Regions from separate parts of the Homo sapiens genome. Here region 2 is linked to region 1. Evidence: promoter capture Hi-C in human tissues and cell types (Jung and others, 2019). All regions are on one chromosome and are shown on one strand. Each heading gives the region's core, a stretch centred on a gene start or on the middle of the fragment in contact. The rest is flanking DNA. Distances are from core to core; before and after follow the strand shown.

Region 1 (6,975 bases), core at 1,351-3,850:
GCCTCTCAAGTAGCTGGTACTACAGGCACATAGCATCATGCCCAACTAATTTTTTTATTTTTTGTAGAAATGAAGTCCCACTATGTTATCCAGGTTGGTCTTGAACTCCTGAGCTCAAGTGATCCACCCACCTCAGCCTCCCAAAGTGTTGGGATTACAGGCATGAGCCACTGCTCCTGGCCGACCTTAAATTCTTGAAAGACTGTAAAAGGGAACACAGATCAGACTTCTATTTCATGTCTCCAATGGGTGCAAGGACCAAAGGGTAGAAGTCAACAGGAAGCAGTTTTTGTTAAAATGTGAGAACATCCTAACAATCAGAGCTGTCTGGCTGCCTTGCAGGCATTGAGCTCCCTAGAGGTGTGCAAGAGAAGCTGGATAGCCTCATTTCAAAAATGAAATAGAGGCAGAGTGTGGTGGCTCACACCTGTAATCCCAACACTTCGGGAGGCCAAGGCGGGCAGATTACTTGAGGTCAAGTGTTCGAGACCAGCCTGGCTAACATGGCAAAACCCCGTCTCTACTAAAAATACAAAAATTAGCTGGGTGTGGTGGTACACCTGTAATTCCAGCTACTCAGGAGGCTGAGGCACAAGAATTGTTTGAACCTGGGAGGCAGAGTTTGCAGTAAGCTGAGATCACACCACTGCACTCCAGCCTGGGTGATATGTTTCCAAAAATAAAGAAATGGGAGAATCTGTTAGGCTCATGAGGGATTTGACTAGGAAACTCTTGAGAGTTCTTCCAATTTACATTCCAGAACCCTAAGATGATATGATTCTAAGACTTTGGTTCTAAGATTTTATTAGAACAAAAGACAATCCCTATCTTCAAAGAACTCACAACCTAGCAGATGGGGTGGACAAATGGTTACTTTCTATAACTGTCATAGACAGTCCTACAGAGTAAATGCAAGGCCGTGGGCAGGATCTGAGAAAGAACCCTGACCAAGCCAGGACTGCTTCCTCATGGCTAGTCTCAAGAACCATTTGCATCAGAGTCATTTGGAAATCTTGTTTGAAAATGCTGATTTCTAGGCTCTACTCCAGATTTCCTGAATTAGAACCTCTGGAGTGGAGCCCAAAAGTCTACTTAGTAAAACAAGCTCCCCAGGGGATTCTTAGGCAGATTGAAAACTGAGGTTGCAGGATGGGCACAGTGGTTCATGCCTGTAATCCCAGAACTTTGGGAGGTGGAGGTGTGCAGGTCACTTGAGCCCAGGAGTTCGAGATCAGCCTGGGCAACATGGAGTAACCCAATTTCTATAAAATACAAAAATTAGCCAGACATAGTGGTGTGTCCCAGTTACTCAGGAGGTTAAGGGAGGAGGATCACCTGAGCCCAGGAGTTCAAGGCTGCTGTGAGCCATAATCACTCCACTGCACTCCAGCCTGGGTGACACAGTGAGATCCTGTCTAAAGGAAGGAAGGAAGGAAGGAAGGAAGGAAGGAAGGAAGAAAGAAAGGAAGGAAGGAAGGAAACTGAGATTGCATGCTTAGGTGATTAGGATGACTTTTCTGAGAGGTGATCTCCAGACTGAGAAAAAGGAATAGTAGGGTCAAAACAAGGTGGGTACAATATACCCACCTTGTATATTGTATACAATATACAATATACCCACCTTGTAGTAGGTCTTTTTAAAACGATAGCACTTCTTAGATATATTCTGGGATTCTGTAATTGAGAGTATGTGCTTCAGATATCCTGGAGCAGACCTTTGCAAGGGAGTGAAAGAGCTGGCCTGAGGCTGTTATTAATTATTCTGAGGCAGTGAGCTGGTAAAAGGGCACCCCACAGGGTCCCCCGGAGAAATTCTCTGCAACTGTCCCTTCCTCTGCCACTAGCCTCCTGGCTCTTATTCCTCAGCTGCCCCGGCTGCCCCAGTTCTCTGAAGCCTGCAATGTCACCAGCAAGGAAACAACAGTTTGAGTGAGGGCATGGTGGTGGGAAAATAAACTGTTCTGGGACAGAGATGAGTAAGGTGCGGCTGAACACAAGTTGGTCAGGCACTGTCACGAACTTTTGAGGCTTGGTGGAGGAAACATTTGCTGGTGCTACTCAGAGACAGAGGGGTGTGTAGTGGATTTTGGGTCTGGGCTCTGCTACCTGGGCAAATCCCTTCTCCAACTGGGCCTCTGCGTCCTGTGTGGAAAAGAGTTTGTGTAAGAATCATATTATTTTGCTGTTGACCCTTTGGTTTTAATACTTTGGACTCAAAGGTCTCATCTGACCTCAACCATAAGCCTGTGAAGAATGCATGGAGGAACTGTACCAACTTTACAGCCAGGCCAAGGCCCAGTGAGGGGCAGCGACTCGCCCACCACCACACAGCCACACTGGAGCAAAACCGACTCCTGGAGATCGGCCTCATGCTGGGCTTGCTGAGGCCCAGCGGAGCGAGAGGCTTTCGGTCTCTGGTCCAGGAAGCAGGCGCTGCAGGGGACGGAAGGGTCGGAGCCCACAGCCGGGGGAGGCCAAGGAGCTGGGCGGAGGCACTCCAGGCCAGCCCGGGGAGAAGTGGGTGTGCTGGGGCCCGGGCGGGGCAGGGGGAGGGGACGCCCGGGGGAGGGAAAAGGGAGCCGAGCGCGGGTGGGAGCCCAGAGCCAGAGAGCGCGCTGGGCGGTGCTGGGCACCCGCGGAGTGGAACGGGGCTGGTGGAATGCACAGGGTCGCAGCGCTTGGGCCACCCTCGGTCAGAGGGCGCCGTGTCCAGCGAGCAAACGGGCGCCCCGGAGCCTTGCTGAGAGGCAGGTAAGGCACCCACCCAGCTGGGAAGGCTGAGCTGCGGCCTGGGGTGGAAATGAGGGGTCTTCCCGCCTCCCTTCCAAGGGCCACGGCGCGCTCTCCGTGAGACTGTGGAACCGAGGGGGAGTGGGGGAGGGGTGGGCGCTGCAAATACCAAGCTAGTCCTCCCGGATCCTCCCCGATCCTCCCGAGCGCAGTGATCGTGGAGCAGCATGTGGGAGTAGGGAGCTGGGCTCTGCGCGCCCCGTCTGGAAACCGTGGGGACTTGCGCCGTTATTCCCAGCCCTCAAGACGGCCACAAGAAAAGTTCCTCCACACCCACAGACGTGCAAGCGAACACTTGCAGCTGGCAGCCAGTGCACACGCAGAAACGACATTTCAGGACCCAGCACAGTCTCATTTGGCTGGAGCCACCGGCTCTGCGGAGCTGACTTGCCCATTCCCTCTACACCTCACTGTGTCCTTCACCCTGTCTGACCTAGTCCCGGGAAACCTGGTGACTCCCAAAAGCATCTTCTGCTGCCAGTAACATAGGTCGAGGCTGGGAGTCGGGAGACTTGAGTTCTAGTTTACAGGCTGTGTAAACCCGGGCAGTCATCCCTCAGCTCTGCGCCTTGTGCTCGCTTTTCCTGGGCCACCATTTGTAAAACGGGCCTCCTGCTCCTGTTGCCTGCATACCCCATGGGACAGAAGGGGAAAGGGGGATTGGACCTCAGAGTCTCTTATCTCGAAAATAAATGAGTTTAGTTCTTGCGTGAAAGCCCACCAGAGTATCCCTCCTAAAATCCTCTCCACTAATTTGCATATAGGGAAACTGATGCCCCAGGGGAGATGATTTACCTAAGGTTACAACAGAGACCAAACAGAATTAGAACCCAAGTTTCCTCAGTCCTAGCCCAGGGCTCTCTCCACTTCACCTACAAAGGCATGTTGTAAACGTGTGAGCTCCTCCTTATTTCCTTGCATCCGTCCACTTTGTCTGTTCCTGATGGAGGAAGACCCATGCTGGGGGCCTAGAAGCTGCTTTCAGATTTTCTTGACTCCTTGAGATGATAACCATCACCTTCTCCATCCCTCACTCAGTCTATACGTCTCAAAGCACATCCATAAACTTAATGTGCGAGTGCTCAAAATACCTTCTAAGAGGGAAGCAAGACAAGAAACTCCATCTTACTGATGAGGAAAATGAGGCCTAGAGGGATATAGACTTAGAGTGATAAAGTTACTTAACCAAAACGCACGGCTAGACGTGTTGGCCTAGTAGGGGCAGGAACCCAGGTCTCCTGATTCCCCCTCTGATGTGTTCTCCACCAGCTACAGGACTACAGAATGGTACCCCTCAATGATAAGGGACTGCGGGAATGATCATAGAGGGTAGGAAACAGGAAGGCTTCTGGAGAAGGTGAGGTTCCTGGGAATCAAGAAGAATAATAAGAACCTCCTGGCTGCTTCTGAGGCTAGGAGACCTGGAGTGGGAAAGGAGACACAGAGATGGTTGTTCTTGGTAATATGGGGGGAAAGGAAAGATGTGGAGACAGAAAAGGAAAACAGTGTGACCAGCCTGCCTGATAATTATCTTGTATGTTTGCAATTTCTAAAACATTCCCATCTCTTGTCTCCTCTAGTTCTCATGTGTGGTAGGCAGGGCAGGGATCATTATCCCCATCTTATAGATGAGGTTCAGAGGAAGTAAATGCAGTGCTCAAGGACACAGAGCCAAGCATACAGCCAAGATTAGAATCATGAAAGGAACACTTGAACGGCAAGATCACAGGCTGAGGGACTGGGGAGTTGGACTGTGTGTGTGTGTGCAGTGGGTGGGTGTATGTGGCCACACCCTGGGTAGGTACACAGGGAAGAGGGTTGCAAAGCCATTGCTGGTGTTTTGAGGCCAAGAATGTTTGCCCTTTGGATTGAATGGGGTCCAGGTGCAGGGAGCATCTGGGCTTCCAAAGAAGGCTTAGAATTCTTCCTCCTCTGACTCACCCCACCTGACTGAGATGGCTTCTTTTCTTTGAGCCATCCCTTCCCCAGACCAAATGAAATCTGTTTTGCCCTGCCCTGGAGGTTGCTTTTTAAATATTGTAAACTGTTTTCATGAATGTATGTGCGTGTGCCAGAGCGGGGGAATGCTCTTAGAGAAGAGGCATTGATTCATTTATTCTTGAATGCCTGCTAGGTATCAGGGCTGGGAAATAAAGAAATGTATGAGGCACAGGACCCTGCCCTCTTACCTTAAAGCGCACAGTTACACACATACACATACACACACACACATACACACACACACACACACACACAGAGTTTCAGTACAGTATAGTGCTCTAATAAGCCTTCGTGCAAAGCACTTTTGGGAAAAAACAAGAGGGAGAGACTAACTGGCTAGGGAGTGAGGAAGGAGGAGTCCCAGGAGAAGGTCTGCAGAGATGAATTGGAGTTGGGTCTTGAAGGATGAGTAGGAGTTTGCCAGGCAGGTAAAAAGAGGAAGGGCATTCTTGTTTAAGAAAACAGCATGAGCAAAGGCAAGAGATGTGCAAGTGCAAGGAATATTTGGAGAGTGGCCTGTACTTCAGTGTCATGGGTGCAGGCCACTGAAAAGAGCTGTGGGGAGATGAGGCCAGTGTCAGAGTCACATTTCAAGGAGCTTCAGTGGTAATCAGAAGAGTTTAGAGTCTGCCCTACTGGCAGAAGGGAACTTATAGTGGAAAGGTCTGTGGAGGGGAAGTCAAGATACTTGGTTTCTGGCTCCAACTCTGCCACTACTGAGCTGTGAGACCTTAAGCAGGTGATTCCCTTGGGGAGGAGGGTCTATTTTCCCACTGGTTGAATGAGGGGGTTGCACCAACAACATGATCATGAAGATCTCTTCCAGCTCAGATTCTATTCCTTTGTCCTTCCAACTGGATGCTAAGGGCTACTCCTTCAACTCCTCTCCCACTCCACCAGCTCTCCAATCCACAGGAGTGGTAAGACCACCAAGGGGACAGTGGTAAAACTGTGCACCCCAGGAACTGTCTTTGGATCACCTACCTGCTTTATGTGACTTTTTCTACCTACCTCTCTGTACTTCATTTCCAGACACTGAAGACGCTCATTCTGAAAGAGTAGCTGAAACGGAGTGACGGGAAAGAAAGACCCAAGGGTAGAGTTTCACTTTTCCCCAGAGCAACCTGAATGAAAACCCCACTAAGATCCCCAGTTCATCCCTCAGATCACAGCTTTATTCCCCAACTTCCAAGTTAGGGGTTGGACAAGTGTAAGGCAAGTGCAGTTTGTGAGAACCTGTGAATGTATGGGAAATAGCAGGAACAGAGAGTGAACCTGGCTCATCTGGGGAATCAGGAGTAGGTCTGGAGCAGTGGGGTGCATGGAAGATGAGAGCATAAACGAAGTCTAACTCCTCCTCCCAAGCTTACCAACCTCCATCTCACTGGATCATTGACTAAGATTGGCGAGAATCTGTGGTGCATGAAAAGGCCATAGTGACGAAGTTAGAGGAGATGATGCCCCATGACACTAACAGGCTGTGTCTGGTGTGATGTGAAGCTTAGGTGTGAGGAAACACTGCCATTTGTAGTGGAAAGAGCACCTGAACAGTAGCCCAAACACCTGGGTTCTTGTCTGAGTGCTGCCATTTATGGGCCATGTCATTTTGGACTAGTCACTTCTCCCTTCTGAGCCTCAGTTTCCTCATCTACGAAATGGAGGGGTTGGCCTGGAATCTAGATTCTAGATGATCCTTAAAGTCCCTCTCAGCTTGGCCATCTGCTCACCTTCCTTCCTCACTGGCCTATCTTCTATTTCAAGGCAAGACCTCTCCAGGGCAGGAGCTCCATCTCCCCCATCCAAGGATCTCAGTAATCAGGGACTCTCCTGGACAGGGAAGCCAAGGAGCTCAGAAACAGTGGCAAAACTCCCCTGTTGCTGACTGCCAGTCCCCAGCTTGAGCCCCAGAGGCAGCCCCAGAGCCCCATAGAGAACCAACTTGTGCCTTCATCAGCTTTCTGCCTCTCCTAACGCAGACAGGAGGCCCTGGCACCCCAGCCTTCCCTCCCATACAAACCCAGCACCTAGAGATGTGGAACTATGGCCCCTTTCCTCCTCCTGTCAGAAGCACAAACATCCTAGTCTATTCAGAGAGACCCTGAGGCATGAAAGGTCTCATGAATCTTTATTCCCCTCATGGAACCCTGCCTCAAAGCCCACCCTACCCTCCACACTGTCCCCTTC
Region 2 (6,975 bases), core at 2,503-5,002, 77 kb after region 1:
TTATCCATTGTGAATTTTCTTTTTAAAAGCAGTCCTATATGTAAGATGTTAGGCACTGGCAAAGTGGATGGGGTCAGTGGCTGGATGGGGAATAGAGCTGGGACACAGGCTAGAGCTGCTCAGCCTGCTATAGCAGCTGTCACAAAGGTGTTGAACTTCCTATATATCAACAACGATGTGGAGGCAGGAATTGGCCACGGCATTTTAAGAAATAGCAAGTAGAGCACTGTGGTCTCAGAATGTAGGTCTGCGTTGAGAAAGAGTATCATGTAAAGTTCAAGGTAGCGTAGGCTTATAAAAAGCCTGAAAATGGAAATAAAATACTTCAATCTAAGCCAGTGATTCACACATTAGTCTAATGGTAGAAGTTTTTTTTCCAATGTCACTCACATGATTTTCTGTGCCTCCTAATGTAGCCCAGATAGAAAAGATGGTGAGTGAATTTCCTTTTAAGTCATCATTATGTGATGGGAAATACACCTATGACATACCTGTACAAAGGTGGTCTACTCCAGGGTCATTGCGTAGAGACCCAAAGAAATTGTGGACATTATCCAGTTGGGGAGCTTAGATGGGAGCTTGGATCTGCCACCTAGTTCAATCCAATTTTTATAATACTAGTTTATATAACATTTTTTGTTCACATTTTTCTAATACTGAATTTGGCATTTAATCAATGAAGAGTACACAGTATACACATATGGCTTTATTACTTTTGGGAAATGCTAGTCCTTATTCCTTGAATTTATTTTTGTAGTGTTTCAACTTTGGTAAAATGCTGTTAAGTCTCATTTGCTATTCATAGCAACAGTGTGTTAGGCAGGTAGTAGTTATCCCCAATTTTGCAAGTAAAGAAACTTAAGCTCATAAAAGAAAAGTGACTTGCTAAAGGAGATACGGCTTTTAAGTGGTAAAATTGGGACTCAAACCTAGGTCATCTGACTTTTACTGTATTCTTATCACTAGGGTAGACTCCATAAACCAAATGTTTAATAAATGTTAGTGACAACATAAACTAAGTTTCAAGGCCCTCATTAAAACTGTTTTATTGGCTGGCCGGGCGCAGTGGCTCACGCCTCTAATCCCAACACTTTGGGAGGCCGAGGCGGGCGGATCACAAGGTCAGGAGATCGAGACCATCCTGGCTAACATGGTGAAGCCCCGTCTCTACTAAAATACAAAAAATTAGCCGGGCGAGGTGGCGGGCACCTGTAGTCCCAGCTACTCGGGAGGCTGAGGCAGGAGAATGGCGTGAATCCGGGAGGCGGAGCTTGCAGGGGAGCCGACATCGCGCCACTGCACTCCAGCCTGGGCGACAGAGCCAGACTCCGTCTCAAAAAAAAAAAAACTATTTTATTGGCTTTTATAAAGCTGGAGTAGGATGTAATATTATGCAGAATAAATTGCCATGGATTTTTTTTTTTTAAGAGCTGAACAGTTGCTTTGGTCTCCTTGGCAACACAGTATTCTCCTTCTGTCCAAGAAATTTAGTACATATAAATGAATATTTGAATTTTTCTTTTTAGAATTCAAATTCATTTTTTTCTTTATACTTCCAAATTTCCTACATTTTCTCCTGTTTTCATCATTTTATTTGCAATTTATTTTTTTTGAAGAAATACATGCTTATGATTTTAAAAAATAGTACAGAAGGGATTATAATGGAAAACAATGATCCTAACTGCCTCTTCTTTTCCTCAGTTTGCTCCTTATAAGTCATTTTAAGTTTCTTTTTAGTTATTTTTGTGGTTACCATGAAAAGACTAAGTAATATACTAGAAGCACTATTTCTTGATGTATTTTAAAGCTTTAGATATTATCTGTCAAATATATCCCTGTGCTATAAAAAATGGGAATTCACTCACTATTCTCTATGTCTCCTAAATTTTGATAGTTATGCTATTAGCATTAGTTATTTCAAAAGTTTAAACAATATAATTAATGCTAGCAAAGTTTGCAGGACAATAAGTGCAACTAACAAACAGGGCTTCCAACTGGCCATTCTATTTAAGAGGAGACTGGCAGAAAACATATTGTATACATGAAAACAGAGAAAACCCATACCAGCTTATATAAGGTACCTAGCGTAGTCAAATACACAGAAACAGAAAACAGAATGTTGGGTACCAGCGGCTAAAAATCTATTGATGTTAATAACTAACTAACGATCAAACTATAAAAAGGAAATAAGCTGCATGAAAAATAAGTAAAGCAATGGATACAGGAAAAAAACTGAGTTAAGTCAGGGAACACAAGAACTTAATGTTTTTTGATTAAATAAGACAATTATTCCATCAAATAAGGAAATATGCTATGAAAAAGGAACAGGAAACAATAATGAGCTCTTGGAAATTAAGAAAAAAACGTTACACCCCACCCCTGCCAAATGCAATAGAAAATATAGACGTTAAAGTTGAGGAAACATAGCAAAAGGAAATAGGAAATATGAGGAAGTTGATGTGGAGTAACTTCCCCAGAAATCCAATGTAAAGAAATCCTAGATGAAAATAGTGTACTGATCCACACTGGGGTTCCAGAAATATATCTTGAAAAAGAATTCAGCATCTATGCCATAAATAGTAAAAAGCTGGAAGATGTTAGTAATATGGTGAAGATGGCGTGTTGTTTCTGGTCAACAACATTAAAAAAAAAAAGAACAGAAAAGAAAAAGCAGTTACCCAAGGAAGGGAGGGAGGGAGGAGGAAAACAGGAAGAAAGTAGGAAGGGAGGGAGGGAAGGAAAGAATGAAGGACCCAAATAAGCAAGGAAAGACAAAGCTGAGTAAGTTAAGTTATGGTCTAAAAATGAAGCCAACTAAAATGGGGCATCATTTTGAACAATTAATTGATGGATCTTAAGGAAAGAAAAACAGATCTCCAGAACTTTTTCATCTTGCTAAACTGAATTTCTGTACCCATTAAATAACTCCCCATTTCTTCGTCCCCTAAGCCTCTAGCACCCACCATTCTGCTTTCTGTTTCTATGAATTTGACTAATCTAGGTACCTCATATAAGTGGCATCATACAATATTTGTCTTTCTATGACTAGCTTATTTCACTTAGCATAATGTCTTCATAGTTCATCCATGTTGAAGACAAGATTTCATTTTGATTATAGAACAAAATGTACATGTTATCAAGTTATTTTGGGTTTGGGCTTATTGCACTTTGTTTCATGCTACTTTTTGTACGTGGAAATTGCATCTACTCTTCAGTACCCACTGATCCCTTCCTCCAGTTCTTTTTACATTGTAGGTTTAGTCCTTTCGTTCCTTTACTATCACTGTAATAAGTTCTCAGGGAGGGGAGACAAGTGTTTAAGTCTTTCATCTTGACCCAAAAATCTTTATACTTTTATTTCTTCAAATTAAAAATGTACTTGAAACTGAAAACAGCTAAGATGTCCTTCAATAGGTGAATGAATAAGCAAACTGTTGCATATCAAATATTATTCAGTGATTAAAACAAATTAGCTGTCAAGCCACAAAAAGAGATGAGCTATCAAGCTGTGAAAAGATGAAGAAACCTTAAATGTAGATTGCTTACTGAAAGAAGATGGTGTGGAAAAACTACACAGTGTAGTAATTTTTCCATAGATATATTTGAAAAGGAGTGATTCATATTTGAAAGCTCTTCCTGTCTCACCTGACAGTTTTCAAAATAGGTAGACTAGCACTTCTGTTTGTTATTTGGGGGACTTCTTTGCCCTGTTTTTTTTTTTTTCTTTCATAAAAGCTGTTTGTTTACTTCCTTCAAGTTTTCTTTTTTTTTTTTTGAGACGGAGTCTCGCTCTGTCGCCCAGGCTGGAGTGCAGTGGCGCAATCTCGGCTCACTGCAAGCTCTGCCTCCCGGGTTCACGCCATTCTCCTGCCTCAGCCTCCCGAGTAGCTGGGACTACAGGCGCCCGTCACCACGCCTGGCTAATTTTTTTTTTTTTTTTTTTTTTGTATTTTTAGTAGGGACGGGGTTTCACCATGTTAGCCAGGATGGTCTCGATATCCTGACCTCGTGATCCGCCCGCCTCGGCCTCACAAAGTGCTGGGATTACAGGCGTGAGCCACCGCACCCGGCCAGTTCCTTCAAGTTTTCTACAAGGCCGTTAGAAACCTATTCGGATATGTCTTTGATCTAAAATTATTTTCCCGGTCGGGCGCAGTGGCTCACGTCTGTAATCCTAGCACTTTGGGAGGCCAAGGCAGGCGGATCACCTGAGGTCAGGAGTTCGAGACCAGCCTGGCCAACATGGTGAAACCCCCATCTCTGTTAAAAATACAAAAAATTAGCTGGGCGTGATGGCACTTGCCTGTAATCCCAGCTACCCAGGAGACAGGCAGGAGAATCACTGGAACCCGGGAGGCGGAGGCTGCAGTGAGCCAAGATCGCGCCACTGCACTCCAGCCTGGGTGACAGAGCGAGACTCCATCTCAAAAAAAATAAATTTTTAAAAAAGTATTTTTCCTGTCTCTTCCTCTCCTCTTATTTAAAAAAATCAAAGAATATGGATAATCTAATAAAAAGGAATTTATCATCATTTGATTCTTCCAGGTTTTACTTGTGAGATACATTGAATTAACAAAAGAATATACATCTTATTATATTTCATTAGCTCAGGGTTTTTGTTTTGTTTTGTTTTGTAGAGAAACAGGGTCTCACCCTGTCACCTAGGCTAGAGTGCAGTGTGATCATAGCTCACTGCAGCCTCCTGGGCTCAAGTGATCCTCCCACCTCAGTTTCCGGAGTGGCTGGGACTACAGGCACAAGCCATCACACCTGGTTACATTAGCTTAGATTTCAATGATAATCCCTGGATAATCTAAATCAGAATTCTTTCATCCTTCCTTTTGGAGAGACAGCACAATTGGCTTGTCTCATGGAGAAACCTGTTTTTACCTAATTTATGTCTGTTTGGCTTTTTAGAAATATTTTCCCTCAAAATAAAAGGTTGATTAGTAATTTAGTGCAGATTTTACTGAAGGAGTATTGTTTTCATTAGTCAACTGTGGTCTGCATTACTACTAATTAGTACTGAGGCTGCTGCCCTCTAGTATCGGGAGTTAATGGAGAAAATGTTCTATGCTGGTGAAGAATAGACAGGAAGGCAGTGAGATAGTGTCACCAATCCTCATGAGATCTTTTACACCAAGTCATTTAATGAGGAGTGTATCTTACCAAACAAAACAATGGAAATGGTCATATTTAATGCCTTAAAGAGTATGAAGACTATAATATGGTAAATGAAAAATACCATATCTCTCTGATTCAAAGACATTTTAATGTCTACCTTGTTAGAAAACCTCTTTAACGTAAGTAATGGTTTTATGTTGTGTTTCTGCTTCAGAATTTTTTCACGTCATTTTCTCTCTGAAATATTTCATTATTTATATAGGTAAAAATGAGGGAAAAGCCTAAGTGTCCATGAATAAATAAATGGTGACATAAACTGGAACACTCTGGAGTGAAAAGAATAGCATGGCTCTATATGTATTAAAAGGACCTCCAAGATATATAGATATAAAGAGAGATATAGATACATAGGTGTATAGGTTTATATTTTTTTTAATTTTATTTTATCATATTAAGAACACTTAGCATGAGATTTACCCTCTTAACAGATTTTCCAGTATTCAATATAGTATGGTTAACTGTAGGTACAGTGCTGCACAGCATATCTCTATAATGAATTCATCTGGCTTAACTGCAACTTTATGCCTCTTGCTTAGCAACTCTCCATTCCTCCTTCCCTTCCAGCATCTGGCAACCATCATTCCACTCTTTAATTCTATGAATTTGACTATTTTAGATACCTCATATAAGTGAAATCATGCAGTATTTGGCCCTCTGTGCAAGATATACATGAAATAAGCAAGTTATAGAACAACATGTACAATTTGATGCCATATATGTAAAAAAAGAGTTAAAGCAAAACTGCATTTTACAAGTATGTAGATGTGTAGTAAAGGTCTGGAAGAATGTATTACAAGCTGTAAGCGGCACCTCTAAAGGTGGGGTCTGGGAATGAAAGTAATGGTCAATGATGTCTGCAGCTTTATCTGTATTATTAGTATTTTTAAAATAAGAGAAATGTGTTACTGTAATTCATAATAAAGTAAAATTTAAAATATAAATAAAAATTAAGTGGTTAACTGTCTGACATTGGCTTTTAAGGGCAATAGGAGTTCAAAGTCAGGAAGATTTTTTGTAAGAGGTAGAATTTGAGCTGGGACTTGAAGGGTAAGTAGGATACAAATAGATAATGGATATGGGGCAAAAATTTAAAATGGGCACAGTAGAATCATAAAATGGAAAATGACACTGATCAGGGAAATGAAACTGAGCAGGAGGCATGCAGAAACCATGAACAGATTTCTTAAGTATAGCGTATGTATTGTGCTACTATGGTGAGTAAGTATAGGTGAAGGAAAACTAGTGTTTATGAGTGATCATGTACCAGACATGGTACTTACTAGATGCTTTCATGTAGAAAGTCTCTTAATTCTCCCAAGGATTGTTTGAGGTAGTTATTTCCATTTTTTTAAGCCTATGCACAAACCCAGGCTCAGAGAAGTGTAGAGAGAGGGGACTATTTGAATCCAAGAAGGTTTCAAACTCCTTTGCCCTTTGGGATCTGACCCCAACCTTTCTAATTTTTACATTTGATGTAATGAGAATTGAACTCTATTGCTGATTCTTGGCTGATTAATCTGGCTGCAGCATGTAATTAGGATGAGATGGAATGGAGTTGTGGAGGGGATCCTGGAAACTCTCATAGAAATGTAGATATAAAAGTTTTACATAAGGATGTTTGCTTTGTGAGAAAATCAGGAAAAGAAGCCATAAGACTCACTAGCAAATTGATCTCTGTCTTCTTTTTAAAAAGACAGAAAATGATAGTTCCCATTTCGTTAAATCATATATTTTGCTAACTTTGAATCACATCTTTTAAAAGAAAGAAATTATAATTTAAATTCACATGCC

Evidence for each region. The method cuts DNA at HindIII sites, captures the fragments that hold promoters and counts their contacts. A contact is called where the count stands out against the background at its distance.
Region 2: a contact is called between a fragment that was not itself captured here and the fragment with the promoter of KCNE3 in region 1, in 2 of the 25 tissues and cell types used here (lymphoblastoid cells and spleen).

What each region holds. Positions count from the first base shown.
Region 1 is chr11:74,463,174-74,470,148 of GRCh38, reverse strand. KCNE3 (potassium voltage-gated channel subfamily E regulatory subunit 3) reads left to right here and starts at 2,600. Exons shown (of 3, transcript NM_005472.5): 1 at 2,600-2,751. The HindIII fragment of the contact is 14,037 bases long and covers 1-6,975 here.
Region 2 is chr11:74,386,919-74,393,893 of GRCh38, reverse strand. All of the region lies in intron 1 of PGM2L1 (phosphoglucomutase 2 like 1), which reads left to right. Among named protein-coding and RNA genes, the nearest start is that of PGM2L1, 8.0 kb to the left of the region's middle. The HindIII fragment of the contact is 9,021 bases long and covers 1-6,975 here.